Linked DNA regions of Homo sapiens: all the other regions are linked to region 3. Evidence: promoter capture Hi-C in 16 types of primary human blood cells and fetal thymus (Javierre and others, 2016). All regions are on one chromosome and are shown on one strand. Each heading gives the region's core, a stretch centred on a gene start or on the middle of the fragment in contact. The rest is flanking DNA. Distances are from core to core; before and after follow the strand shown. Region 1 overlaps PLXNA2 (plexin A2). Region 2 overlaps PLXNA2 (plexin A2). Region 3 holds the start of LAMB3 (laminin subunit beta 3). Region 4 holds the start of MIR29B2CHG (MIR29B2 and MIR29C host gene). Region 5 overlaps PLXNA2 (plexin A2). Region 6 overlaps PLXNA2 (plexin A2).

Region 1 (4,537 bases), core at 63-2,562, 1.5 Mb before region 3:
CTCACACTGCACCTGGGCCCTTGGCCTCCTTGTTGGGAACCCAATTTGGAAGGTATCGAATGAGGGACAATGTAAACACCTGTATCCAGGAGGATGCGAGGAGAAGAAGAGTTCCAATAACTCACCCTTAGGGGAGTGGTTTGCAAAATGTGGTACTCAGATCAACAGCATCAACATCAACTGGAAACTTACAAAATCAGCATTTGGAAAATACAAATTCTCAGGCTCCATCTCAGATCCATTAAATCAGAAATGCTGGGCGTGGGACCCAGTGATCTGTATTTTAATAAGCTCTGCAGGTGATTCGGATGCAAGCTTAAGTTTGAGAACAACTAGTTTAGGGTGTGGGTTGAAGTCTTTTTCTTGGTTTAAAGAGGAGGGACATGTGCTACCACACAAAGGGGCCTTCCCCCTTGCCCTAGCATGTAAGCCCTGACACACAGCATCCCCACAAGCATGACAGCACGCTGGGCCTGGGCTACGGAGAGTCTCTGGTGATGAGGACAGGGGCAGAGGCCCTGTGGGTGGTTATGGGGAGGAGAGAGGCGGGGAGGCTGCCACAACTCATTTTCTCTTAACATGAAAGCCCAGAGGAAGCCTAAGCATCCTCGCCATTGAAGCTGGTAAATTACAGGATGATGATGGTGATATTACCAATAATGATGATAATAGCACCAATAACGTGAGGTCAGACAGGCACTTTCCCGTCCTCGGTCAAGGGGTAAGGTTGCAGCTTTGGTGCATTTGCTTCTGATTTAGAGGAAAACCTGGCTCACAGCCAGCTCCATTTCCCTGCTAGGAGGTGCAGCCGGGGCTTTTGGCTCTTTGTCCTCCCTCCCTTCTGCCGGACCTGTCCTGTGGTCAGGAACCTCCTCCCTCCTGGCATAATGGTCTGCCAAGAGGCAGGCAGCACTCACTCCCCTTCTCCCCCACCAGACCAACCCTTGGTTCACAGACTACACGTCAGCCCTAGAGGTCAAGATCAGAGGGAGAGGCTCAACCTAGATGCTATCCACAGGGTGGGGCAGATGAGGGCCCTGGAGGCTCTATTAGCCTCTCTCAGATAAGCCACAAAGAGAAACTGGAAGGCAAAAACTGTGTGAGTGTTAGGGTAGGAGGCTTCAGCAAATCCATAAATACCTTGAGCTGAAGCCTCCCCTTGGAGATTCTGTACTCTCTCCTGCTGCCCAGGGAAGCCAGAGCAGGGATTCAGAATCTCAAGGAGAGAAAAGGTCATCTGGTAGCATCTTCCTTCTACAGTATCCCCTGCCACCCCCCAACCCCTGCCTAAGGCATCTTTCTTACTCTTCTTTGAGATTTCCCAGGATGAAATACTTCCCCAAATGCTACAGCATTTTCTAGGAGGATCAAAGGGAACAAGCAAATACCCAAGCCCTGGGTCTCTCCCCTCTGGCTGCCTCCTGCCCCGCCCCCACCCTGGGGCTTCAAACACGAGGAAATTAGCACAAGGCCCCCTGTCATCACATGCAGTGACTTGTGAACATGTGCTTGGGTTGTTCCTCCTCCACAACAGGCGGTTTAGAGCAGCTCACTGGGGGCTTGTATTTTTTTTTTTTTTTTTAAATAACTGTGTGTATGTTAAAGTCATTAAGGCTGGGAAAGGGGGTGGAGTGGTAGGAGAGTAAAGGCCATTATATGGGAGGAGAAGAAAAATGGCCTGTCTTCAGGCTGTCAGCAGAAGAAACGCCTCTGCATTCAAGCGGTGGGAGAGGGGCTCCGGTAGGAGGCCTGAGTGGGCACCTCTGCCGGGATGGCTGGGAGCAGGGGCAGAAGGCAGAGAAAACAGGTTCATCACATAGCCTGAGCTTTGGCTGTGGCAGTGGCAGTGGCTATGGCTGCCTGGGTATGGACTGTCACTATTCATTAAAGAGCCACCAAGAGAGAAGAAACCTGGGAAACAAAAACCCAAGAGCTCATGCTTAACTTTCATGTATCAGGCACCGCGTTACACCCTCTGCATCTGCTTTATGTTGAATCCAAACAACATTGGCATCCATCCTAGAAAGGCACTATTATTTACTCCGTTTGGCAGACGAGGAAACTGAGAGTCACAGTGGTTAACTTTACACAGCTAGCAAGGGGTGGAAGAAGTGTGGAGACACGGGTGAGTCTTCAGAGATTTTGTCTGAAGTTGTTGCCCCTCATGAGTATTCGCTGTCATTGCCCCACACCCTAAAGCAATCGAGGGGAACTGGGATGGAAGATATCCCAGGAGGGGTAAAAAGGACTGTGATGAGGGAAATGGGGGTAGGAGGGAAAGGGAGTAACCGCTATTGGCCCTGGCCATGTCAAGCTTCTGGGGTCTCCCCCTGCCCAAGTTTGAGAGGGGATGGCGGAGGCTGACTTCTCTGCGACCCCAAACTCCAGCCTTCCAAGCCTTCCAAAGTTCACTCAGTGAGAAACCTCTAGTGTCCAGGCTCTGAGCCTGTGACCTCTTCCTTCCTTTCAGATTTTAATTTGCTGGACTGGGAGACAAATGCATGTGGGAGGTTCTCTGGAGTGATAGGAACACACTGAGGGCTATAAGAAGCATCAGAGAGGCTTCATGCTGGCTGGGGCCCTGAGGACAATCCCATCTACCACTTCCCGACCCAGGTAGGCAGACCGAGCCTTTTCCTTCTGAGCAAGCCCCTTTCCAGGCACTGCTGTCACCTCCTAAGGCTGAGGAGGGTGGTGGCAGGAGGGTGCAGGGAAGGCCCTGTCTGTTCTCTGGTCTTTCCTTCAGGGGGCCAGACCCTGAGGGGTGCAGCCTAGTTCCCCAGAGCACATGCTCCAAATCACAGCTCCAGTGACAGCTTTTGCTTTCCCAGTGAGGGGGCTAGCTCAGGAGATGAAAGTCTGATCCCACTGGCAGCTCCACAGGCTTCCTTTGCCAAAACACACTGTGAAAAGACCCCTGACCTCCACCTCATACTTTCTCTGCTCCACCTCCCGTCAGCCCTGTTTGCTTCCCTCCTCCCTAGAGAGGGTTAGACAGCCCAGTAATTTAGGGATCACTAGCAAGAAAGGTGCAGAGGTCAGAAGTCAGAGAGGGGCTGGGAGGGGAATCTCACCCCTGCTCTCTGGCAAAACCTCCCACCTCTTTCCGCCATCTGTAGACCAGGCCGTTGTGGGCCCGAGTTCACTGTGAAGGTAGGGATGAGGTCCAGGGATGGGAAGTGGCGGAATACAGAGCGATAGGAGGAGAAGCTGTAATTTTAAATTATGTCCAGAAAAATAGCTTTTGGGAGGCAAATGTTCTCCTCCAACTTTCTTATTTTGAAATTTTGCTAGGAAAGAAAATGTTACACTCCCCTGAGACCGTGTCCCATTTAGGAAGTTCTTTCTATTATCTCATTTCAACTCCTCCCTGCTCTAGCTGCTATACAAACAAAGGCAAATTGACTTAGTGTCTCTCCTGTCTCTTTCACCGTGGCCTGTTCAGTCTAGCTCAGCTCAGCTCAGCTCCAGAGCTTAGAACTCAAGACAAAAGGAATCAAACCAGTAGAAGGAGATGAGCAATGGGTTCATCTCTCTTCCTTAAGAAATCAAAGGCCGGGTGCAGTGGCTCACGCCTGTAAACCCAGCACTTTGGGAGGCTGAGGCGGGCGGATCACAAGGTCAGGAGTTCGAGACCAGCCTGACCACCATGGTGAAACCCCATCTCTACTAAACATACAAAAATTAGCCGGGCATGGTGGTGCCTGCCTATAATCCCAGCTACTTAGGAGGCTGAGGCAGGAGAATTGCTTGCACCAGGGAGGTGGAGGTTGCAGTGAGCCCAGATCGCGCCACTGCACTCCAGCCTGGGTGACAGAGTGATACTTTGTCTCAGAAAAGAAAAAAAGAAAGAAAGACAGAAAAAAGAAATCAGAACCACCAAAAAACTGCAAGAGAATTTTTTGGCAGTTCCATAGCTACTGAAAGCGTCTTGCTCTGCCCATGCGAGTGGCAATGTTGGGACACTGCATTCATGGAATGGAGCTCCGGAAGGGCCTTATGAGGCCGTCTCCTCATTTTGCAGATAGGAAAACTGAGGCGTATTTGCCATCACTCTGCTTGTTTGTAGCAAAACAGGGGCTCTCCTGCTTTCCCCTGTAGTTCTGAGCAAGAAAAGGGGTTTGAAGGGCAGCCTTTCAGCTGGGCAGAGCTGTGCGGGGAGTTTGCATCCAGTACTGCTGGGTTCTAGCCCATTCCTAGGTTGGGCAGCTCAGCCTCTCCTAGAGGAGACTCTGGCTGCTGAGTGACCCGGTGAATTAATGCAGCTTCTGGCTAGGGGTAGGGGACAGTAAAAGCCAAGGAGCCAAGATCAGAAAAAGGAATAGCTTCTTCCCATGTGGAATCAAGCTGGGGCTGCCAACCTCCTAGTCAAGAAAGAAAGCTTTTCCTCTCTCTTCCTCCTGTTTACCCACAGCGACTGGGGGAGGCTGTACAGAGAGGCAGGTTGAATGTATTCAGTCTGGGATAGGGAGGGAAAGTTCCTCTGGGGCTCCCCCTTCGTCTAGGGGAGAGGTCAGAAGAACAAAGGTCACAGATG
Region 2 (4,748 bases), core at 520-3,019, 1.4 Mb before region 3:
AGAAAGTAGACAAAGCCCCCACTAGCAAAGCCGTAGATGTAGAAGATGTCAAAGTGGGAGACCAGGGCCAGGGTGTCTGAAGGGATCTTGATGAGAGAGGAGACAAAATCGCTGTGTAGCTCATAGTCGAGCATGGCTGAGGACTCAGGGTCTCGGGGCAGCTTCCGGCTGGACAGGGTCGGGAAGTAATCCTGCTTCCCATCCACAGCCGTGCCGATGAAGAGCTTGCCATCCTCACCCTCAGAGCGCACAATCACCCCGTACATGGTGCCCGTCTTGTTGACACTGGACAGGTAGTGCTCCTTCTTGTGGGATGGCTCCACCAGGATGAAGAGGTCATCCAGCCGCAGCAGCTTGCAGACCCCCTGGTAGAGGCTCCCACAGGCCAGCAGGCGGTTCTCAGAGTAGTCAATGATGAGCAGCTTGTTGACATTGTTGGTGAGGGTGAGCACTTCGCTGCAGGGCTGCACGATGAGGGGCGGGTAACAAGACTTGTTGTCCTCTTCTGGCCCTGTCTTATGAGCCACCTGGATGGTCAGGTTGCCTGTCAGCTTATAGACCCGGTTGATGGCCCCCACATAGACGGCCCCCGTCCCTTGGTGGACGGTCAAGTGGTTGAAGGTCCAGTCACGATTCTCAGAGTGGAAGGTGCTGAACTGAGGCATGCCGGCTGCTGGGGGGGCCAGCAGCACCCAGACCACTGAGAGCAGGACCACAGAGCGGCTGTCCACCTCCAGGGCCCGGGGCCAGGGCCGCCTCTGTTCCATGCTGAGAGGGGCGGCGGTGAGGAGACGGCTCCTGTGTGTGCTCATCTGCTCCACCTTCCCCGGTTGGCCCTCACATGATTCTGCAAAACACAAGGCAGAGTGGTCAGACCAAAAATAATTTCCGGGAGGAGCAAAGAGGCTGGCCTGACCCAGGGTCCCCATCCTGGTTTAGCTCTGTGAGTCTCCTCCTTCTGCATTTTGGTTTTTCTATTTTTAACATACTTTCTCCCTCTTAGGAATGTTCAGGGAATCCTGTTATCTATTTTGGTCTCTAGCCTTTATGCTATAAAATACTTGCTTTTTTTAAAATTTTATTTTACAAAGCATCTCTATTTCTGGCCCCTTAAGCCATCGTTTTCATCTCCCAGAGAGGTTAAAAGGCTGTTGAAGTTCACCCAGCCAGTCAATTTGATATTAGGACTAAACCCAGTCTTCCCTATCCTACCGGCACGTCTTATCCCAGCCCAGTGGAAGTCGCTCCTGTTTTTTGAAAGCTTGTTAGGCAGGCCCTCCCCCAGGCTCTCCAGGTCAACTGCTCCCAGAGTCTGATATTGCACACAAAATTCCTTCCTATTTTAGACTTCCATCACCTCACTCCGCTGCATCTCTTCACTTTCTCATGCTCTGTTATCCACAGAGAGGCAAGGAGCTGGTCACCCTGAGTGAGAGTGCCCTGCTCTGCCCTCAGCCCTTTCTTCTCCAGCAAGAAGAACCCCTGATCACTAGCTGTTAGAACAGCTGTTAGAACTTGTTAGGAAAGGGAAAAATGTTGTAGCCAACAAGACTGGGATTCCCACATGTGCCATTCCGGAGCCGGAAAAGCCCTCGGGAGACAGGCAGATCTCTTGAGATTCCCCCATCCTTCTCAAGGTGGACGCCCAGCTGCTGCCAGGTAGCCAGGTCCTCGGGAAATTGCTTCAACCTCTGCCTCTCTGCAGGCAGAGCACATGGGAAGCCAGGACACACAGAGAACCAGTCTCCTTGCTAGGGGTTACTGGCTGGCTGAGTCCAGCTTCAGCCACCTGGGGCAGGGGTACCAGATTTGGGAGAATGTGGGGAGCAGCAAAGGGTGGTGAGGTGAGATTCAGTCTCATTTCAGGCACTGCTGGGGCCTCCTGACTGTTTCAGCATCCATGAAATCACCAGCGGGCCTCAGTGGGCCATGCTCGAAGCCCAGTCTCTAGCCCTGACTCCTTTACTCTTCCCCCTGCCTCCTGACTCCCAGGCTTTAAGGCTCCTCCACTTCCAGAGCCTTGGTGCTTATTCTTCCCTGTTCCAAGGAAGCTGCCCAGAGGGGCAAGGTGGGGCTCCTGAGGACAGCCTGTAGCCAGGGGCAGTCTGGGCCAGGGGCAGGAAGTCAGAGAGCAGAGCCTGGAGGTCAGAGAGCAGGACCTGGAGGTCAGAGAGCAGGGCCTGTTCCATCACTATCATGGTACTGTCCTGACTTATGGAGAGGGACAGTGGGAAGTGACTGCGGCACCAGGAGAAGGCAGCGAGCTGTCCGGCAGAGAAAGCTTTTCTCAGCTGGAAGATCATCCAGCAACCTTCTCAGGCAAGTCCAGACAGAACTCTGGGCACATAAGGTGGCAGGGATGGAAACACCCGAAGGATGGAGAGTTTGCTCCAAGGCAGCTTAGGAGAGGCCTTTCTCCCTCAACTCCCCATTCTGGCTGGATTGGGTTATAATTAGAACAGACACCACTTAGAGAATCCCCTAGAGTTTCTTTAGGAACGACCCTTCCTCTTGTTCAGTTCTGCATCCTCGGCCTGGCAGCCACCGTGGTGCCACAGTAGGTCCCACCTAACTCCCTCCTCCAACCCGACTCCCCCAGGGTGTTCGGGGTGACTCATGAGGCCCTGGGCTTCCTTGGAAAGAGGAAGGCAACACCGGCATGAGACTCAGGCTGACCTCAGCTACTCCGACACAGCCCTTCCGGCCCCAGGCGCACACCGGCAAAGCCTCCCAACAGACAGGGCTTTCAGTTTGGAAACCAGAGGTTATTTTTAGCTATGTCCTGAGGCCGGTAGCAGGACGTGAATTCCTGAAGAGGAGCTGTGGAAAGGAAATAACAGAATCCTTAAATTCTCCAGCTGGATGGGGAATTGCAAGAGGCCATTCTCTGCCCCTGTCGCTGGGAAGAAAATCTCCTTGGGTTCCAGGTGGAGAGTGGTTCCTCCTTGAGGAGCCGCGAGGGGAGGAAGGGGGTTCTGGTAGCAGAGATAACATGGAAGGACTTAGTATGCGGTTAAGATCAGCCACCTCACCTCCCTGCTTGGTATCCTCCCAAGACACAGTTTGAATAGTGAGTGGCTTTTGTTGTTGTTAGACAGAATCTGGGAACAAATTTGGGATTTGAGGCAAGTCAAGTCTCATGTCCCTTTCTGGTAGAATGGGAATAACTACAGTATGTACCTTTCAAGTTGTCATGACAGTAAATGAGACAATATAGAGACCAACCTCTTAGCATGGTTGCAGGCACACAGTGAGCACTTAACTTATGTTAGTTTTTGTTATTATTATTATTATTGAGACAGAGTCTTGCTCTGTCGCCCAGGCTGGAGTGCAGTGGTATGATCTCAGCTCATTGAGACCTCCGCCTCCCTGGTTCAAGCGATTCTGCTGCCTCAGCCTCCACAGTAGATGGGACTACAGGCACGTGCCACCACACCCGCCTAATTTTTTTTTTTTTTTTGTATTTTTAGTAAAGACAGGGTTTCACCATGTTGGTCACACTGCTCTCAATCTCCTGACCTCGTGATCCACCTGCCTTGGCCTCCCAAAGTGCTGGGATTACAGGCGTGAGCCACTGCACCTGGCCTGTTATTGTCTTTGAAGACTCCACAGGAGATGGCACTTCTGAAATCCTGCCACAGCTCTTGACTTCTCTTTTTGCTTATATTCTTCCTTTCCCACCCACAATGAGATGAACACTGTGGGTGTGCCTTTGATCCCTAGGCCTCCCCGACCCAGTGACAGAGCTCAGTCTGGGAAGCATGTGGCAAGGGGAAAGAAATAGATCCAAGGTGATCTTCTTTGTCATACTACTGCACAAGTCCCAATATAGCCTCTCCGCAGACTGCAGGAAGGCTGGTGGAAACACAGGATCCTGAGAGTTAGACTGAGAATGAGAAACGTCCTGATGTCTAGAAGGCATGAGGTCACAGGGCAGGAAGAAAGGTGGGAGACTCAGGAACCCTGGGTTCACATTCTGCCTGTGTGACTCATGAATTATAGTGTCACTCACTTTAGACCAGTCTGGCATTTCCATGAGCCTATTTCTTGATCTTAAAACAAAAGGTATTTGAATTAGTCAACCTATAAGATTTCCTTTTTCAGATAAAATGCTACCTCGAAGCTTAGTTCCTTCAGTTCCTGGAGTCTGTGATTCCAATAGCAGCTGAGGTTTTTTGCTCCAACCTGGAGAGGCTGATTAGGTCAGGAGCTTTTTTCTTTTTCTGTTTTTTTTTTTTTTTTTTTTTTTTTTCAGGCCAGTAGTTCTAAACAGACCACTCCAGCTGGGCTGTTTTCCTCTCACCCTCATGCAGCATTTGCTTTGGGACAGGCCACTCCTGATAACCAGCCAAGTGAATTCATCTCACAGGACTCAGGGACTGCCCGCCTGGGAGCAGCTGTCATTGGACACTGGAGTCAAGAGGAGGCACAGTCTCCTGCAGTGAGGGGAGGTTTGCACCCCACCTTGGGAGTGTGGCCTTCATGAAGACAGCTGACTTCAAGGGCACGTTGAGAGCCTTCATCTTTCTATGCCAAATTGATGTGACTAAGTGGCTGTTCCAAGCAGAGCCCAGTGGGCAAAGATCAGGACTCCTATCCACATTCTGAGTAAGGGAGGATGGAGCCCACCTTTGTGCCTCTGGTGAGAGGCAGTGCGATATAACAATTAAATGCATGAGCTCTGAACTTAGGTGCCTGGACGCAAATGGAGCCTATAGCTGTGTACACTTGGTCAAGGTACTTAGCCA
Region 3 (4,454 bases), core at 1-2,500:
ATGTGACTCACAGGGTGCCCTGGGAAAATCCCATCCCTTCCCAGACTCCAGCTTCCTCCTCTAAAATGGATGGGAAGGAGTGTGGACCCTGCCCTACCCCACACAGCCGTAAGGACAACGTGGGGAGCAGGAAAAGGCTGGACCCTTTGCAGGAGAAAAGCTGTAGAAAGGGCCAAGACCTAGTTCCAGCCCCAAGAGAGAGGGCTGGCTTTTCTCAGGGCCTAGACCAGCAGCCTCAACCCAGCCCCGCCCAAAGTGAATGAGTCAGAGTGGCTGACGGCCTGGAGGCAAACCTTCTCCTGTCACGGGCATGGCCTCCAATACCATTCAGGGCCACTTTGAGTTTGAGGCTCTGTGCCCACAATTCTGGGATGCAACAGGGAGAGATGTATGGCTGTCTTTAACAAGTGAGTGAGGGTTTCTTCTGAAAGGGAAGCAACCCAAAATGTCTTCAATGATGGGCTGGGGCTCGACAAGAGGGGTGGGGCTGGGAGGCCACAAAGCAGGGATTCTGAAGGAGGCTGGGGAAGGATGCTCGAAAGCCACCGTGGGGTCCCAGAGGCAGGCCTGCCTTGTGGAAACATGCCCCACCCTTGCTCATGCAGTGACCCTTCTGCCTTGAATTGGATGTTCACTCTGTTCCAATGACAGCCACAAACTCTTTTGGCTGGGGTGGAGGGCTGGGGGCTTGGCAAGGCAGGGGCGGGGGGGGAAATTGAGGACATTTCTGGCATCTTTAAATTATAGATCCTAATGCTTCAAAATCATTCCTTCCAATCCCTCTCCTAAAAGAGTCATGGGCCCAGGGAGGGAACATGTGGCCTGGGGTCCCACAGCTAACGATGGCCTAAGAGAGACCCATCTTCTGACTTTCATCCAGTGCTTTCTCAGCTTTCCCACCCCTGACTGAAAATCCCCCTGCAAGTAGGCATTCTGAGCCAGGCCAGCCCACCCTTCTCACTTCTCTTTTGTGCTCAACCCCGGATCTGAACCTGCTTTCTTCTAAGCCACTGAGGTGCTTATCAAATGTGAAAAAGAAATCAAAACTGTAGCAGACATTTTAACCTAGCTCACCTGAGTGAGCTCCCAGGAAGAGGAATAAATCAGGCCCTGAAACCAGGCCCCAGGCATCCAGAGATACAGTCCTCCTCCCGCATCCGGCCCGCACCAGGCAGGTAAAGACAGGTAACATACCTTGCTGTGTGTTCTGCCGTTCTTTCTCCAGATCGCCTGAAAGCTCCTCTTGAATGTGGGGGTCTCCCCTCCCGGCTCCAGGTTTTTAAACAACAGCCTCACCTCTGGAGACTCCCTGGCTGGGTGTAGCCCCACCGCAGGGCGGGTCTCAGGAATCTGGCAGCCGTCACACCCATCTGTCGTCACTGCACCCCCACCTCCCAGGACGGGACTGGGCAAGTGGGTTGGTCGGTCCGTCCCAGAGTTCTTGTAGTGAGCTCCACAATGCCCACCTGCCTGTGGGGGCTGCAAGGGGCCCCTCAAACAGAAAGCACAAGGCACATGTAAGTGATCATCAGAGACCAGAATTCACAGGGTGGGGAAGGGCCCTTGCATTTGTGCCAGGCAATGAACTCAGCATTTTCCCAAAGCCAGCAGGGGTCAGCTTCTTCTTGTGACCTGGACCACCCCAGACAGAAGATCAGGCAGAGAACACAAAGATTAGGGCTTATATAGAGAGTTAAAGCTCCAGACATATCACCGGGCTGGAAGGTGAGAAGACTCAAACATCCAGGACCCTGGAAAGCACCATTCCCCTCCCCAGTGAAAAAAAAAATGAAAAATCCCAGCTTCTTGGGGCATTTGGAGGATCCTTAAAAGGCAAGGTTCATCAGGAAGGATTCAAAGCTCAACTCATCCAAGGAAAGCTTAAGAGAAATGAGCAGAGTAACTAAATGGCTCGCCTCCAGCTCCCTCCACAGGGTTGGCAGGGAGCCCTGGGACAGGTAGCTGCCTGTGAGTCACTCCTCCCACCTGTGGGGAGGGTTAGTCTCCTAGCCCCTCCCTCCCTAGGCAGGAATGCCCGCCTGGAGGGCCAGAAAACAGACCTGACCACAAGTGGTGGAAGGAAAGGCTGAAGCATAGCTTGACTGACAAAGTCAAAACAGACTTTCCCTGGCCTCCTGCCAGGCCTGAGAACACAGCTTCTTTTGTGGGCTCCTTGCTCAGGGATCCTGGGCTTCCAGCCACTGTAAATGGAAGTGGCAGGTCCAAATTGAGAGGCTGGTCTCACAGGACACTCTTTCCCCCAGGTTAGGGTCAGAGAGCTTTTAGGGAAACCTGGAGGGTCAGCCAGTCCATATCTTGGCCCTGGAGAGCCTGCACTGGCACCGTTTTGGAATGCTAGGACCTCAAAGCTACTATTTAAAGGAGCTTCTTAACTACGATTCCACTTTGTTAGTGTCTCCTAAACAGAAAGTTCTCCACCATTGGAGGGTTATGTCCAAGAAATTGGCTTGAAGACCCTTAAGGGGGAAATGTAGAATTTTGTGGATTAAATTGGGCATTTCTAACCCTCAGATTCGAATTAAGCATAAGTTCAGGTAGGCAGAAGAAATAGTGTAATTAGCAAGTGGGCAGTGAGTTGTTGATGTAAGTTGATGCATAATTGATAGTCCAATAAATGTTAGAGTCTTGCCCCCTGTAAGCATTCCAGTGAAATCTAGCTCAACTCAGCAAGTAAGGTCAGTAGAAGCAGTGTCCCTTCAACACAGAGAGACCTCCCTCAAGTCCCCCACCGAGAAAGGTCAGCTCTGACTCTGACACACCTGTGTTTTCAGTTCTCCCACCTGGTGGTCTCTTTCTCTCCACTTCCCCAACTCCCTGAACTCAGAGCGCTCATGAAACTTTCGCCCTCTGCCCATCACCAGAGGATGTGACAAAGAACTCATTAATAATTAACTCAGCAGAAGAGAGCAGGTGTTGCAATCCCAGATCCTCAGAGGAGAAAAGGCAGGGCAGGTGTGCGGTGGGCCTCACCATGAGTAGCTGGGGCCCCTTAAATCCTCCTCCTCCTCCCTTTATCTGAGGCCATGAGCCCAGGTAAATACACATTCGGTGTCTCAGACTTCACAGGCTTGGGCAGGTCCTGGAGTGGTTTGGCTTCGCAGGAGGGACATGCCAATTGCTGTGCTTGGCTCTCCCCTACACTCCCGGCAAAGTCCAGGAAGCTGTTTATGCAGACCCCCAAGAGCAGCCCAGCCAGCCTCACTCCTGAGGGACACTGATCATTTCCAAGTGGGGATCCAGTCCCCCAAGAACTCCAGGGCTCCAGGCACAAGCTCTGGAGCTTCAGAACCCAATTTGTTCAGTCAAGTAGCCTAAAATAGAGCCTGAGGCCAGATCAGGGTCCAGCTAAGATTAAAGGGGTGTGGTACTGTGGCTGGAGCCCCTCAGCCTCCCCTGTGTGCACACCTTTCCTCTCTCCCTGCGCCCATCCTCCTACAACAGAGCACTTATCTGCCCTAGAGCCTTGACTTATTAGAATGTGTGCTCAGGAAAGTGGCTAGTGAAGTCATCCCAGACTTCAGTATCTTTCAAACCTCATCACTCCATCAGCAAATTCGGTCAGCTCTGCCTTCCAATAATAATCAGAATCTACTTCTTCCCTCCTGGCCTGAGCCTCTTTTCCTGGGACGTCTGCAACAGCCTCCTCACTGATATACAGTCAAGTCCCAACACAGCAGGTTATGCACCCCGAGCTCAGAATCTTCACATGCCCCTATCCCACTCAGGGCCAAGGCCAGAGCTTTTTCAGAGTCTAGGGGACCCTACACCACCTTCCTCCCATTACTCTTCACCTCTACTACAATGGCCTCTATCCCTGTCTTAGCTCAGGCTTAGGGCTTTGGCTCCAGCTGCTTCTGCTGCCTGGAACGGTCTTGCCCCTGGATATCTACAAAGCTAACTCTCTGACCTCTTTCAAAGTCTTTGTTCAGATCCTAACTTCTCAATGAGGCCTATCCTAAACACACTATTAAAATTACAGCCAACTTCCCTGCCCCATCCCTGTCCCCCATCCTAACACTCCTAACCCCACCTACCCTATATTTTGGTGAGTTATTTATTTACTTATTTGGTAGGGGGGCATCATGTACCAGCTTCTAACCAACTATATAATTTATCTGCTTATGTTTATTTTCTGTCTCTTCCCAACTAGAATGTAATATCCAAGAAGGCAGAGATTTCTATCTTATTCACTACTGTTTTCCAAGTGCCTGGCACATAGTAGGTGCTCAATACTTGTGGAATGAATGGATCCACACTAAAGTACAAACAATTGATACAGTTCAATGCATCCCCTGTGCCGTTGATGTGTAGTTGCATTCTCAGAGGGGACAATCCAGGCTTTGGGCACTGGGATGGATTACTAATAGTGGAAATTCCTGTATCAGCCAGAGTGCGGAGGTCTTTTTTGAGGCACCTATCTCCAATTACAGAAA
Region 4 (4,140 bases), core at 1,116-3,615, 1.8 Mb before region 3:
CTCCCTCCTCTTGTACGAGGAAGGCAACCAGGATAACTGAGTCAGTTAATCCATCAATTTCAGCTACAAGAAAAAAGCCATCATCTTGAGTGAACCTGACCACAAAGGAAGAGGAGAAAGTTAATGACAGTGTCAAGGAACAGCTGAGGGACCCAGACCATGGACACAAGATTGACCACCCAAACTCCCTCAGAGCATTAGGGACTTACAAAATTCCTTAAATAGACAAATTTTGGGGATCTACTTCATAACAGCCATCTTGTAAACACCAGTAATTCAGAGAGGAAAAATGTAAAGGCTTTGGAAGACCAGGGCTCTAGTCATGACCAGGCCACTTACTAGACATGGGATGCTCCCCACAGGGCTGTGGAAAGGAGTAAATGAAGTAACTGCAGGGAAAGTGTATAACATGGTATCTGTCAAACAGAAGGCACCAAATAGGTATTTGTTTTCCTTCTCCTTTCTCTAGCCTCCCTCCTGGAGCTCCCAATCTGATAGGTGACATAAGACTTATACACAAATAATCATAACACAACAAAAGTACCATAAAAAGGGACAGACTGTATGGAAGTTTGGCTGAAAGGGCAGGGGTGGTTATGAGAACTGCTTCTTGCCAAGGAAATCAGGAGAGGTCCACGGAGAAAGTGAGACTGCCACAGGTGGATGCAGAGGAGAAGAGGCATGGAAAACATCACTGGTGAAAACAGATAGGAAAAGGAAGTTGCCTGGTTTTGTTGGAACCTATGGTCCACCAAAAGAAACTGAGAGAGGTAAGACTGTACAGGAAACCTAAGGCCAGTTACGGCCAGCATTGAGCATCACGCTAAAGGGAAGGAATTTTACTCTGGGAATTATGAGAAACCATTTTAAGTTTCTGAGCAAGAAAGACAAGATGGCCGCTGCACGCAGAAGGGCCTGGAGAGAGGGGGAACGGGCAGCGGGGAGCCTCACAAGAGGACTACAGCTGGAACCATGGCACTGGCAGGGGGCATGGAGGAGAAAGAGAAGAAAAACAGTAAGCAGGCAGGACCATCCGAACAGATCCTCAAAGCTGCCATGGACCTCACTTCCCTGTCCCCACAGGGAGGCTGCTGGAGACAGAGCCTATTTGGGGAACACAAACCACGGGTCTGACACGTCTGAGATGAGCTGCCGAGCCTCTGCCTCCACTCTCATTCAGACACTCAGCTTTTCCGAACTACTCCAAGCACCAGGCTGATGAGGACATGGGAAACCCACGCTCTGGCAAAGCCGGGCCCAGGTGTTGAACCCCTACCCAGACGCCTTCCACCTGAATCCCCACCCAGGACTGTGTCCAAGGGTGGGACTAGGCGGCTCTGCCCCTAGAGCCACCTTCATTGCGGCAGCCACCACTGTGCCTGCCTCTGCTGTGCTTTTGCCCCCCCTTCCCCTCCTCCGTCATAGCCCCCGCCCCCCGCCCACTCTGCGGAACTGGCACAGCAGGACAGAAAAACCAACGCCACCATGTCGGAGACCAGCAGAAATGGCTCCAAAATGGCAGCTCATCAGAGGAGTCCAGAAAGATCATAAACCCACCCAGGGAAAAGAGGGGAAGCCAGTGACAAGGGGAGTAAACTGTCAAAACTACCTCCCAACCAAGCCCCCGATAATCATCACATCTTTTCCTTCAGAAACATCCTCTCAAAAATCAGATGGGACATGAGTGAAAGAAGGGTGCCACCCCCTCCACCAGAGAGGCCCTAGGGGCCATAGGTGGTATGGGGCACTCAGAAGGATGTTCTGTAGCCTCTTCCCCAAGATGAGGCTAGAAAACCACCACTTTTGTCCTCAAGCTTGGCTCCTGCCAGTAACTAGACAAGAGTTAGCCCTCCCAGGGATTGCAGTCCTTCACTGCTACCCAGTCAGACCCTCCCCAGCTCTATGGGCCCTGGGGAGCAAGAAGGTAGGGTTGCAAGGAAGGGCCGAGAAGGCGCGTGCCATGCCCTCAGTTATGTAATAAGAAGGGCGGTGCTCGTCCTAGGCCAGAGACCCAGGGCGCACTGCGCTTCCAGATGCGCAGTCACGGGTGGGGGCCACTGCGCATGGCGCAGGGCTTGGTAAACCCCCTCCCCACAAACGTGAGACCTGCGACAAAGACAGGTTAGAGAGCCGGGACCCTGATTTTTCGAGGCCTCCCTCCCCCAACCAAAGGCGGACAGCCTGCTGCCCTAGTTTTATTCTGATTCTCCTCATTCCCTAGACTGACAAACCTTTCTAACCCGGGGCCTCCAAACCTCCCGTCTCCCACTGACTTTTCTGGAAATCCCACCAGATGCGGAGTTTCGAGCAATTTCCTGGGGTCAGTCCCCCATCCTCACCTTTCCAAGCACCACGTAGTAGTAGCTTCCAGAAGGTAGATCTTTCCCATACTGGGCTCAGCTCACAACTGGCTCTTGAGGGCCTCTGGACAGCCCCGGACGTCAATGCAAATCTGTTGTCCCCAGGGAGTAGCCCAGAGTCAGCAGGAAGCCCAGGGTGGTGGCAGTATCAGCAGCAGCAGCTCTGCCCTACCTTGCCCATGCGTTTCCAGGGGAGCCAAGAATTATTTTGCCGCAACACTGAGGTGTGGCTGATTGGAAAATTCCCTTTTCCAACACCAAACTACAGAATAAATATTTTCTTCCAATTTGGTCAACCCTCTGCATACCCATCTCCCTAGCATTCTTCCCTCTAAATAAAAAGTTTTGGGAGCCCTGAGCTCTTCCTCCTTATAGTGCGTGAAATTTTAAAAGGCATAGGAAGAGGCTTCAACTGGGCAGTCAAAAGCAGGCATAGACACAGGAGCCTACGCACACCCCTAAAGAGATTTTAGAAAGCTGCTGGGCTTCTCCCCGCTCCCCTTTAAGCAAGTGAAATGCAAATTCAGATTTGATACCCTGCCCTGAGCCAATCAAAAAAAGCTTTTCACCTGCCATTGGCCCACCCACCAATCAGAGGAAGTGTCTGGAGGGAGAGCCCTCCCCTGGCCAATGGAAGGCCAGCTCAGTCACTTAGTTAATGATGCAGCAGTACAGGGAAGGCCATCACATGTGAACTGGAAGGGAGCCAACATGGAGACACAGAGAGCGCAAGGTAAACAACTTTCCAACGCCAAAAGGATGACATTTAATCTCTAAATGCTAGCTTCCCTTCTTAGCTCATCCTTAACCCCTCTCAGCTGGCCACAGAGACCCCAGGAGCCTCACTACCTGTCCCCATAGAGCTCCTAACCAGATGCAACAGTGACTGCGTCACCATTCCCCACTTTTCCCAACTACGCAGTGACAAACCTACCAGCTTTACCCCACTTCTCCCAGCCCACACCCCACCCTGGCCACTCGGCTCCCCACCAGCCTCAGAATCCCAGGGCCAGACCTTTCAATAAGGCAACCCCTGGGAAAAAACTGTCCCTCTGTCTTCCTTTCGGCACTTCTCACTCCCTTACCTTCCACATAAGACCTGCACGGACAGACAGATGGACGCTGACACCCAAACAACTTGGAGAACCAGTCTGTCTGTCCACTAGAAGGAAATAGGGTAAAAGCTGGGAGGTCAGGTGGGAAGCAGGGGATGGTTCACTCCTCTCACCTCTACCCTGGTCAGGCTTGAGCAGCTGACACTAGGGAAAAGAAATTAAAGTGGGAAAAAACCCTCCCTCAGAGAAATAAATAGCAAAAATCGAGAAAGAAGGTGAGAAAGACAGAGCACCCACATACACAGAGACAGCGCCCCTGATCCCAGCAAATACATACGTGGGGGAAGAAGGGGGTTACGCCATCAAGTCCTGAAGCCCGTCGGACCACCCATCGCCGCCTGCGCAGACCCAAATCTTGGTCCCGCCGTAAGGTGCCGCAGTCCCGAATGTTCCAGAATTTGGTCCCATCAAACCCTCCACCGTCGCCCCACAACCTCTTGCTCCCACCCCTGCCCCCCACCACCACCCCACCTCCTCCCCACGGGAACCGCCCGTGCCACCTTGCGTGTCATCTCCTAGCCTAGGCTACCCAGAGGCCTCTGGCCCTGACAGATCTCTGAACGCTCAGCAAGTGAGCTGGCAGAACCTGGTGCCCGGTGTTGCTATGACTTGTTTCTTGATTTCTCTCTCTCTCTCTGCTGCAGCACGGCTGTTGCTAGCAGACC
Region 5 (4,373 bases), core at 863-3,362, 1.6 Mb before region 3:
CTTTGGAGAGAGACTTCCCTCTCTGCCTCCCCCAAGATGAATGGCTTCTTGTGGAGAGGAGCTGTGGCTTTAACACTTCATCCTTACCCAAGGTCAAAATATCCTCAAATTGGATAACAGGGAGAAGAGAGGCCAACCAACTCCCTCTTTTTCTCATCCAAAGGGTGTGGACTTCATTGGTTCTTGGTGGCCCAAAGCGAAGAGGTGTGGAGGAGGAACAGGTGGGCAGCTGGAAAGGGGGCAGGGCCTTATAACCTTTCACCCTCATGGCGTGGCTTGAGTCCAGCTTTTTCCCTTTTCTTAATTCCTTCCTTAAGGATGCCCCAGGCTACTTCCTTTGTCAGCCCAAGTTCCCCAAGTCTCTCATGGAATCCTGAGAAATGTGGCCAAACCACTCACAGCCAGCTCCGGCTCTTCACTCTCCACCCTCCAATTGGCCATTGCCCCATCATTCTCCACGCTCTCCACAAACCTTCAAGGAAACGCCCCAGGGGCAGTGAATCGTCTCCAAAAGTAACTGCTGGGAGATGCCAGGTAGATGCATTGAGTTAAGGGCTGGTAGAGATGCTACTGAGATGTCCGACTGCCTTTAACTTCTTGGTGGAGCAAAGCCTGGATGCCAGTCTGAGCAGCCATGCGGCCAGAAAATCTTCACCCAAACAGAGCTCAGAAGTTAGATGGGGTGGGCTGAACTTTTTTACAGGTAGCATAAGGTCTCCTGGTCACACTCTTCTTACCTATATCTCCTTTCCTTTTATCTCCATAAATTATGGGCTCTGCGCTGATAAGCTTTGAGTGCTATGAAGAGCAAACACTTTGGCTTAGTGCGGAAGGCCAGTCATTAGTATTTCCTTCAGGCTACTAATAGGGCCTGAGAAACTTTAAAGAAGTGGATTTTCAAAAGAAAGTGGCCTTGGCATGGCTGGTTGTGAATTATAATGAAAACAGCAAGTTTCCTGAGTATTTTGCTGAATGCTTTTCTCTTCCCATTTGTCAGCCGCATTCAGGCAAGAAACTAGAGCTGGGGAGACCGGGCAACGTCTGCTGTGTGGTTAGACAGCGATCCAAAGCTACACGCCAAGGATGGAAGCCAGACCTCTGCGCTCCCCTCCCCCAGCCCTCTCCTGGGAATCACATGTGGTCAGCAGGGCCTTTGGAAATTGGAACCACTTGGAGGTAAAGCAGGGCACGGAGAAGCTGGAGCCCAGAGTTAATAACAGAGAAAATGACCCTGGTCTAGTCTCTCTTGGAGGAGCTGGTCTAGCTTCCCAGCATCATAGCCTAGGATTCCTGACCCTTTGAAAAGTGAGGAAGGGCAGCTTGTTCCTCTTTGTCTTCCCCAGTCCCACACCTTTGCTTCCACTTGTCCTCCTACCCCCTGACTCCAGTGCTGCTTGCAGAACAGTTGGAGCTGGCTGCTCGGATCCAAGGTAATGTGGGAGGCCTGGACACTCTGATGGCTATCCTGGCCACCAAGGTCCTGACACTCACAGAGCGCCTTTCCTCTCGATGACTCCCACTGGCTTCTATGGGGCCTTTGGACCTGGGCATGGAGCTTTGGTCTCTTTGTTTGGAATCTACACTCAGGAGAATTGGTTATCCATAGTTTTAGGCATCATCAGAAGAGACAGAGAAGGAAAGTCCAGTGAGAAGTCATCCACTTGTCCTTCACACTCACAAGTCCGTGAGAGGCAGAAAGAGAGGCAGAAGGTAGTAACGTGGGCATGCCACAGTCATTTCTACTGAGGAAGTGCTGTAGGCCCAGATGGTCAGGAGCTTCCGTATATGAGCGAAGGGTGGTCTCCCCTCTCCAGGCACGAGAGAATGAAAGAAAGAAAGCATAATAATAAATACTGCAGCTTCTGTAACCTATGCTCTTCAAGTATTGCTTGCTGTAAACAGTGTTTGATTTTTGTTTTCTTTTTAATTGCCAGGGACCACTGGATGATTGGAGTGAACTCCAAAGTCAAACACCTATGTCTCCAAATCAACTTTCAAATGGAACCTCGTGGAGGCCTGGCCCACACACCTCCAGGCCGTTTCCCCAGGGTGCCTGGTTTATGACAGGGATTGATATGAGGCAGGGCTGCCAGGTGTCTGGTCTGGGAGAGGCCCACCTCACCCCACTTCTCATAGTAACTTTAGGGAAATTGAAAGGAAACATATCAAAGACCAGCTCCTCATTTGTTGAGGTTTAGGATTAAATAAAACAAAACAAAAAACAGTAGCAAAAAGCATTGGTACTATCTAGGTACACATCTCCTCTCAAAAGATGAGAATATACAGGTGTGTGGTAGATAAAGCTCAGTTTCCAGTCAGCCAGGGTGAGCTCTTGATGGCTTTGCAATTTGTGCAAAGTTCTGGAAGTTCCATACTCCTCTGGCTGCCGGGATAATTCCAGGTTTTACTGGCCTCTGTTTTTGCGAAGTGTTTGGTGCATACTTGTGCTCATCATTCTTCTTCTCCTCTTTCTCTTTTTTTTTTTTTTTTTAATTTCAAGGAAAAGGAGACAGTCATTTTCTCTCCAATGTCTCTCAGCATCTCTGCTTTCTCTGGCATTTGGAAATAGGCATTATATAAAGAAGGAGGAATGGGAGAAAAGATGGAAGGGAGACAGAAATCAGAATTAAACAAAAGTTGGACGGGATTAACAGGGCGGCTTTTTGTTTTATTTCTGTTTTTTTCCCTTTTTCTTAAAAAAATTAAATAAAGTTCTCATTATTTCCCCAATATACATCAAATGAGTTTTCATGCAAAGCAGCAGTCACAGAGGCAGAACTGTCCCCAGCTCGTGCCTCTCGGCTTGAAGAACCACCTTCTCCCGGCCCCGGGTTCTCTGGTGTTCTCACTGAGGATGGACGACGCCCACTGTCTCTCCCAGCTGGAACTGGCTATGACGAAACTTGGCTGGCGTAGGGAGAGGAGTCCTCCCCTCTCCCCAGGATGGGGTCTCAGGGGACAGCAAGCTCTGGGGCCTGATCCCCATCACTTGTCCTTCCATCTGAGACTCCCAGTGTGACAGCTTGGACAGGTCCCTCTTCCCAGGAATGCGAGGCTCCTCCTCTCAGCTCTCAATGGACATGGCATTAATGAGCTGCTCCACCTTATAAGCCAGCCGCTGCCGCCGTGCCTGCTCATCCTGCTCTAGGGCCCCGATGAGCTGAGGAGCAAAAACAAAGGCAGGAAGACTTCAGGACTCAGAATAGAAGACACCATTTTCTGGAGTCGTTCCCTCTTTGCCCTCTGTCTACCTTTCCATTCTGCCTTCATGCACATAACCTTAAATAATTTAAATGATTAACTGAATGAATACATGCACACACACCTATATATATGTATGTATGTATGGTGTTTCAAACATTCTCTGGCATAGGAAGTGCTATGCAAGTGTTAATTATTGCTACTACTACTACTACTTTCACGTTCAATGCTAAAGAAGCTTTGTGAGTTTTCCAAAGGTATCCTAATCAATCTCTATTCATATTAGGGTCCACCTGTCTATCTGAAATGTAACTGACAGGATCTGCCCGAATGCAAAGAATAGTTTGATTCATTAAGAGAGAATGAAATTAATTATACCATACTTTGAACTGAAAAACAAATGATTAAAAGTGTTATTTATTGTGTTAACAATGAGTGAAAGACAATGAAGTGTATAAAGCCTTCAGTGAATCAGGAGTTGAGTTGCCTCATAAAGGAATGATAATTTTCGAGCTCATGGGCTTCTGACTCCCTGAATGTGTTTTCTAAATTGCCATCTATTTAAGGACTGAGTCAGGCTTCCTGCTCCTTGCCTGTTGGTTTCTGTCCCTGCTGGGGCCCTGTCTCACCTCCTCACTATACTTGCTGACATAGGAGTAGATCTCATTGAGGGCACTCAGCATGTTGAACTCCACGGCGTGCAGGCGGGACTGCTCGGCGAGGTAGGCATTCATGTCCTGGTCACTGATGGCTGGGAGCTTGGCGATGTCTGCGTAGTATCTGCCAGAGACAGGATAGGCGCCTTGGTGGAGGCCTCAGCAAACATTTACCTATAGCTACCCCGGGCCCAGGTCCTTCGAGGGCACTGATGTACCCAGTTGCTCCTGCCTCCCTATTTCTCTTCTGATGTGGCTTCCTCTGGCCTCTTGCTTCATGCTGAGGTTGAGGCTGAAGGCCAGAGTTTCTTCAGTAGATTCCATCTAGCCGAGAGCTCGTGGCTGCGGTGCCCAACAGAGTGGTTAAAAGCCCAGACTCTCACCAGGCTCTTTGTGTTCAAATCCCAGCTCTGCTACCTGCTAGCTGTGTGACGCAGGGCAAGTTATTTACCCTCTCTGTACCTCAGTTTCCTTATCAGTAAAATGGGGATAATAATAATACTGGCTTCACAACTC
Region 6 (4,127 bases), core at 1,465-3,964, 1.5 Mb before region 3:
ATCGAGACCATCCTGGCCAACATGTTGAAACCCCGTCTCTACTAAAAATACAAAAATTAACTGGGCGTGGTGGCATGAGCCTGTAATCCCAGCTACTTGGGAAGCTGAGGCAGGAGAATCGCTTGAACTAGGGAGTTGGAGGTTGCAGTGAGCTGAGATCACGCCACTGCACTCCAGCCTGGTGACAAAGTGAGACTCTGTCTCAAAAAAAAAAAGAAAAAAAAAAGTCCTTTAAAATGATATAGGGAAGGGCCCCAAAATTGGAATTCAAAAACCTGGGTTCCAGTCTTGCCTCCGTGGGTAAGAACCTGGGTGAGTTTCAGCAGATCACTCCACCTTTCTAGGCCTCAGCTAACTCATTCATAAAATAGAACAATACGCATCTTACTTGTCCAAAGTCAGTAGACCAGATCAGTTTTCTGAGGTCCCCTCCAGCTACTAAATCTATGATACACATTTAAGGGAACACTCTTGATCTTGCTTGATAGCGTCAATCTTATCCCCTGGGGGCCTTAACCCCAATTCCCCAGCCTCTTCCCCTCAATTGTCAAGCGTGGGAATTCCAGATTTGTTATTAAAGCCTGTTGATGCCATTTCTCCTTCCAGATTAGCTGGGGGACACTCAGCCTTTGCCATAGAAACCATAACACAGGGTAGGATGGGGATGGCTGATTGGGACAACCCAACGGCACCAGCTCCTGAACTTCTTTCCCACCTTGGAGCCTAGAAACCTTTCTGGAGGCTGAGGCCAGGAGAAGAATAGAACCACAGGAAGAGACTCAGAAGGCCAGAGCTCCAGATTCATTTTCACCACATTCATCTCCATGTATTTCCTGCCTCCCTGGACAGAGAGGCACATGCTAGCAAGAAGGAAAGAGACATTAAAGTAGCCATAAGCTCTTAGCTTGATCATCTTGGGCTACACAAGTGACTTAGGTATATGCTGGGCCCATCTCCACCCTGAAGTATTTGTCGTTCTGGTTCCAATTTCCACATCTTCCCTTGATTTACAACTTGACCCCAAGTAAGTCCATAATCTCTGAATTTCAGAATCACCATCTGCAACAGAGCAGTGAAATATCCCAATCCTTCTTTTTTTTTTTTTTTTTTTTTTTCTTTTTTTGGAGACAGAGTCTTGCTCTGTCGCCTAGGCTGGTGTGCAGTGGTACAATCTTGGCTCCCTGCAACCTCCGCCTCCCGGCTTCAAGCGATTCTCCTGCCTCCTGCCTCAGCCTCCTTAGTAGCTGGGATTGCAGGCATCCGCCACCAGGCCCAGCTAATTTTTTTTTTTTGTATTTTTAGTAGAGACGGAGTTTCGCCATGTTGGCCAGGCTGGTCTTGAACTCTTGACCTCAGGCAATCTGCCTGCCTCGGCCTCCCAAAGTGCTGGGATTACAGGCGTGAACAACCGCGCCTGGCCTCCAATCCTTCTTGATCATCTGAAAATTATATGGGACTAATGAACTAATAGAATCAAAGAGAATTTGGGACTGTGGCAGAAAAACATGGTAATAGTACAGGAGTGGTAGTAGTAATACTAGTAGGAGGAGTCACTCTAGCAGCAACAGAGGTGGTAGGCAGCAATGACTGCCATTTATTAAGCATCTCCTATGTCAAGATCTGTGTTAGACATTATATATCCTCCATGTCTGATACGCATAGCAATCTTGCCAGGCAGGCATGGGTGGTCCAGATGAATAAACTGAGGTCCCCTCAGATCACATAATTCATCGAAGGCAGAGTTGTGCAGCACAGGATACTGTGGTTGGTGTGGAGACATGCAAAGGGGGAGAATGGGCCTGTTTTAGTTAATTCTGCGAAGCTACAACAGGGCAACTGACACTTCCTTCAGCCCCACCCTGGGGAGGGGGTCAGTACATATTGTTTGGTGATATGAGACTGGGAAACCTCTCACTGGTGACTAATGCAACTGGATGCCAAAGTCCAGCAGGATTAGATTAGTTCGGCTCAGCTGGTCCCGTCTTCTAAGTATTTTTTTCCCATGACTCAGGGCTGGGAGTAGGGGACAGGATTCTCTTCCTCCGTCTGACCTTGCAAACATGTCACTGAAAAGGAGCCTGATCTGACAGCATCACTACCCCAGGGAGCCAGGGAAGAAGTGGGGTTTTGGGGAAGCCTCAAAGATATCAGTAATAATAGAAAGCACTTGCATGCCAAGCACCATATTAAGCACTTTTTACACATGATTTTATTTAATCCTTACAACAAATATGCAAAGTGCTTATTACTACCCCACTCCACAGGAAAAAAAAAATCGAAGTTCACAAGTTAAGTCACAATTGTAGTAATATTTAAATGCACATATGCCCATGTGCCCAAGCTCTGCACTCCATCCCTTCCATGAATTATTTCTTTATGATCTATTTTTTCCTTAGCACTTATCACCCACTAAACATAATATATATTGTGATTACTTACTTTGTTTGTCTGACTTCCCACATTCAGATAATTTCCATCAGGGCAAGAATTTTTTTTTTTTTTTTTCTTTTTGAGATGGAGTCTCTCTGTGTCCCCCAGCTTGGAATGCAGTGGTGCAATCTCAGCTCACTGCAACCTCTGCCTCCTAGGTTCAAGCAATTCCCCCACCTTGGCCTCCTGAGTAGCTGGGATTACAGGCACAATGCCGCCATGCCCGGCTAATTTTTGTATTTTTAGTAGAGATGGGGTTTCATCATGTTGGCCAGGCTGGTCTCGAACTCCTGACCTCAGGTGATCAGCCCGCCTCGGCCTCCTAAAGTGCTGGGATTACAGGTGTGAGCCACCATACCTGGCCAGGGCAGCCATTTTTGACAGTTTTATTTTCTACTGCTTTATACCAAGCTCCTGGCACACAGTACATATTCAATAAATATCAGTTCAATAATGAATTATGTCATTTAATCCTTACTGTAATCTTATGATGCCGGTACCAGAACTGTCCTCATTTTACATTGAGGAAATTAAAGCTCAGAGGTCACACAGCTAGTAGGATGGAGTCAGGACTGGATCTCTCCAAAGCCCCTATACTCTTTGTTATGCAAATTGGTCCCTACCCGAAGGCAGGAGAGTGGACCAGGTGGTCTTTGTAAGTCCCTTCCGACTCAGAGATCCAGGTCCATGTACAAAATCCACAGACAGGCAAGGCTTAATGGTGTAAAAGGGTCTGTATTTTCCTAAAGATAAGACCTCTGTAAACACCAGCACCTTGGCCTCTTGAAAATTTTGCATAGCCTATTTAGGTCACCTGTATTCTGTGAGCTTGAATCATTACGCCCATCCCACCCATCCATAAAACACAGTTCTCTGTGTTTCACCTGCTTGGCAATAAAGCCCCGAGCTGCAGGAGCTCAACCTTAAGACTGCAAAACAGCCAGCTGAATACACAGCCTGAGGCCTCATACAAGAATTGTCCAAGATTGAAGTATATTAGAAACTACACAAAAAGTACAAAAAATAAATGAGTCTTTAGTTTCTCCCCTTTCAGAATGACTCTGGGAGATCAGGACCTCCTTCCCTGGGGTCTGCTGGGGATCTGGACAGAGCCGACATCTCCTGTCTACACCTGCCATGGTCAAGCAAGGAGATGTGCTGGCCAGAGTGTGTGTGTCAAGACGGGTGGGAGTGGGACATTCTGTAAATATGCCCCTTTCTTGTGCCAACCAAATGCAGCCTTTCCCAGCTTTCAGAAGACCAGTTCTGGGGACCCAAGAGGCCTATAGAACAACAAAACAAACAGCGAGCTTGGCGGCGGGAGCCCGGGCAGGGAGCCAAACTCATTACTAGGGATGTGGTGGTGAGCTCCCTGAACCACCACCCCACCCCTTCCATGCAGGCTCTGGGGAAGGGGAGAGGGTCTCTACTCCCCACCACCCCAGTGTCCAGCATTGCTGAGACGCCTGGGCGAGTTAGGGTATCAGATGGGCGGTCTCAGGTCCCAGGAGAGCCACTAAGTCTCTTAGATGTGGACCTGCAGCTCCGGCTGTTTACTCAATCAAGGGTTCATACTGAGAGACAAGTGAATCATTTCCACTCAGAGGAATGAGTGGCTATTGTTTGGTGGGGCTGGCACAGAGAGAAAGGCATGTTTCTCAGCTTTTCATCCAACTTGGCCTTCCATCCGCCAAGGC

Evidence for each region. Contacts are between HindIII fragments. The CHiCAGO score rates a contact against its expected background, and 5 or more counts as called.
Region 1: a fragment that was not itself captured here is called in contact with the fragment with the promoter of LAMB3 in region 3 in 1 of 17 cell types (M0 macrophages); the score reaches 6.6 in M0 macrophages.
Region 2: a fragment that was not itself captured here is called in contact with the fragment with the promoter of LAMB3 in region 3 in 1 of 17 cell types (M0 macrophages); the score reaches 5.4 in M0 macrophages.
Region 4: a fragment that was not itself captured here is called in contact with the fragment with the promoter of LAMB3 in region 3 in 1 of 17 cell types (M0 macrophages); the score reaches 6.5 in M0 macrophages.
Region 5: a contact is called between a fragment that was not itself captured here and the fragment with the promoter of LAMB3 in region 3, in 1 of 17 cell types (M0 macrophages). The highest score is 8.4, in M0 macrophages.
Region 6: a contact is called between a fragment that was not itself captured here and the fragment with the promoter of LAMB3 in region 3, in 2 of 17 cell types (M0 macrophages and M2 macrophages). The highest score is 7.6, in M0 macrophages.

What each region holds. Positions count from the first base shown.
Region 1 is chr1:208,178,600-208,183,136 of GRCh38, forward strand. All of the region lies in intron 3 of PLXNA2 (plexin A2), which reads right to left. Among named protein-coding and RNA genes, the nearest start is that of PLXNA2, 64 kb to the right of the region's middle. RefSeq lists enhancers at 587-1,143, 1,267-2,220. The HindIII fragment of the contact is 1,999 bases long and covers 314-2,312 here.
Region 2 is chr1:208,217,156-208,221,903 of GRCh38, forward strand. PLXNA2 (plexin A2) reads right to left here. Exons shown (of 32, transcript NM_025179.4): 2 at 1-847. The coding sequence starts at 767. The region is part of intron 3 of LOC105372884 (a long non-coding RNA gene); the gene reads left to right. Among named protein-coding and RNA genes, the nearest start is that of PLXNA2, 25 kb to the right of the region's middle. RefSeq lists an enhancer at 2,509-2,803. The HindIII fragment of the contact is 1,020 bases long and covers 1,260-2,279 here.
Region 3 is chr1:209,651,175-209,655,628 of GRCh38, forward strand. LAMB3 (laminin subunit beta 3) reads right to left here and starts at 1,251. Exons shown (of 23, transcript NM_000228.3): 1 at 1,195-1,251. RefSeq lists an enhancer at 753-1,952. The HindIII fragment of the contact is 2,819 bases long and covers 1-1,878 here.
Region 4 is chr1:207,819,865-207,824,004 of GRCh38, forward strand. It overlaps MIR29B2CHG (MIR29B2 and MIR29C host gene), which reads right to left and starts at 2,839. Exons shown (of 6, transcript NR_135299.1): 1 at 2,340-2,839. LOC148696 (a long non-coding RNA gene) reads left to right here. Exons shown (of 1, transcript NR_026817.1): 1 at 1-2,732. RefSeq lists an enhancer at 2,530-2,709 and a silencer at 2,850-3,029. The HindIII fragment of the contact is 1,107 bases long and covers 1,813-2,919 here.
Region 5 is chr1:208,024,179-208,028,551 of GRCh38, forward strand. PLXNA2 (plexin A2) reads right to left here. Exons shown (of 32, transcript NM_025179.4): 31 at 3,831-3,981; 32 at 1-3,160. The coding sequence ends at 3,065. Among named protein-coding and RNA genes, the nearest start is that of LINC02767, 67 kb to the left of the region's middle. The HindIII fragment of the contact is 2,650 bases long and covers 788-3,437 here.
Region 6 is chr1:208,199,486-208,203,612 of GRCh38, forward strand. The region is part of intron 3 of PLXNA2 (plexin A2); the gene reads right to left. Among named protein-coding and RNA genes, the nearest start is that of PLXNA2, 43 kb to the right of the region's middle. RefSeq lists a silencer at 1,839-2,133. The HindIII fragment of the contact is 8,872 bases long and covers 1-4,127 here.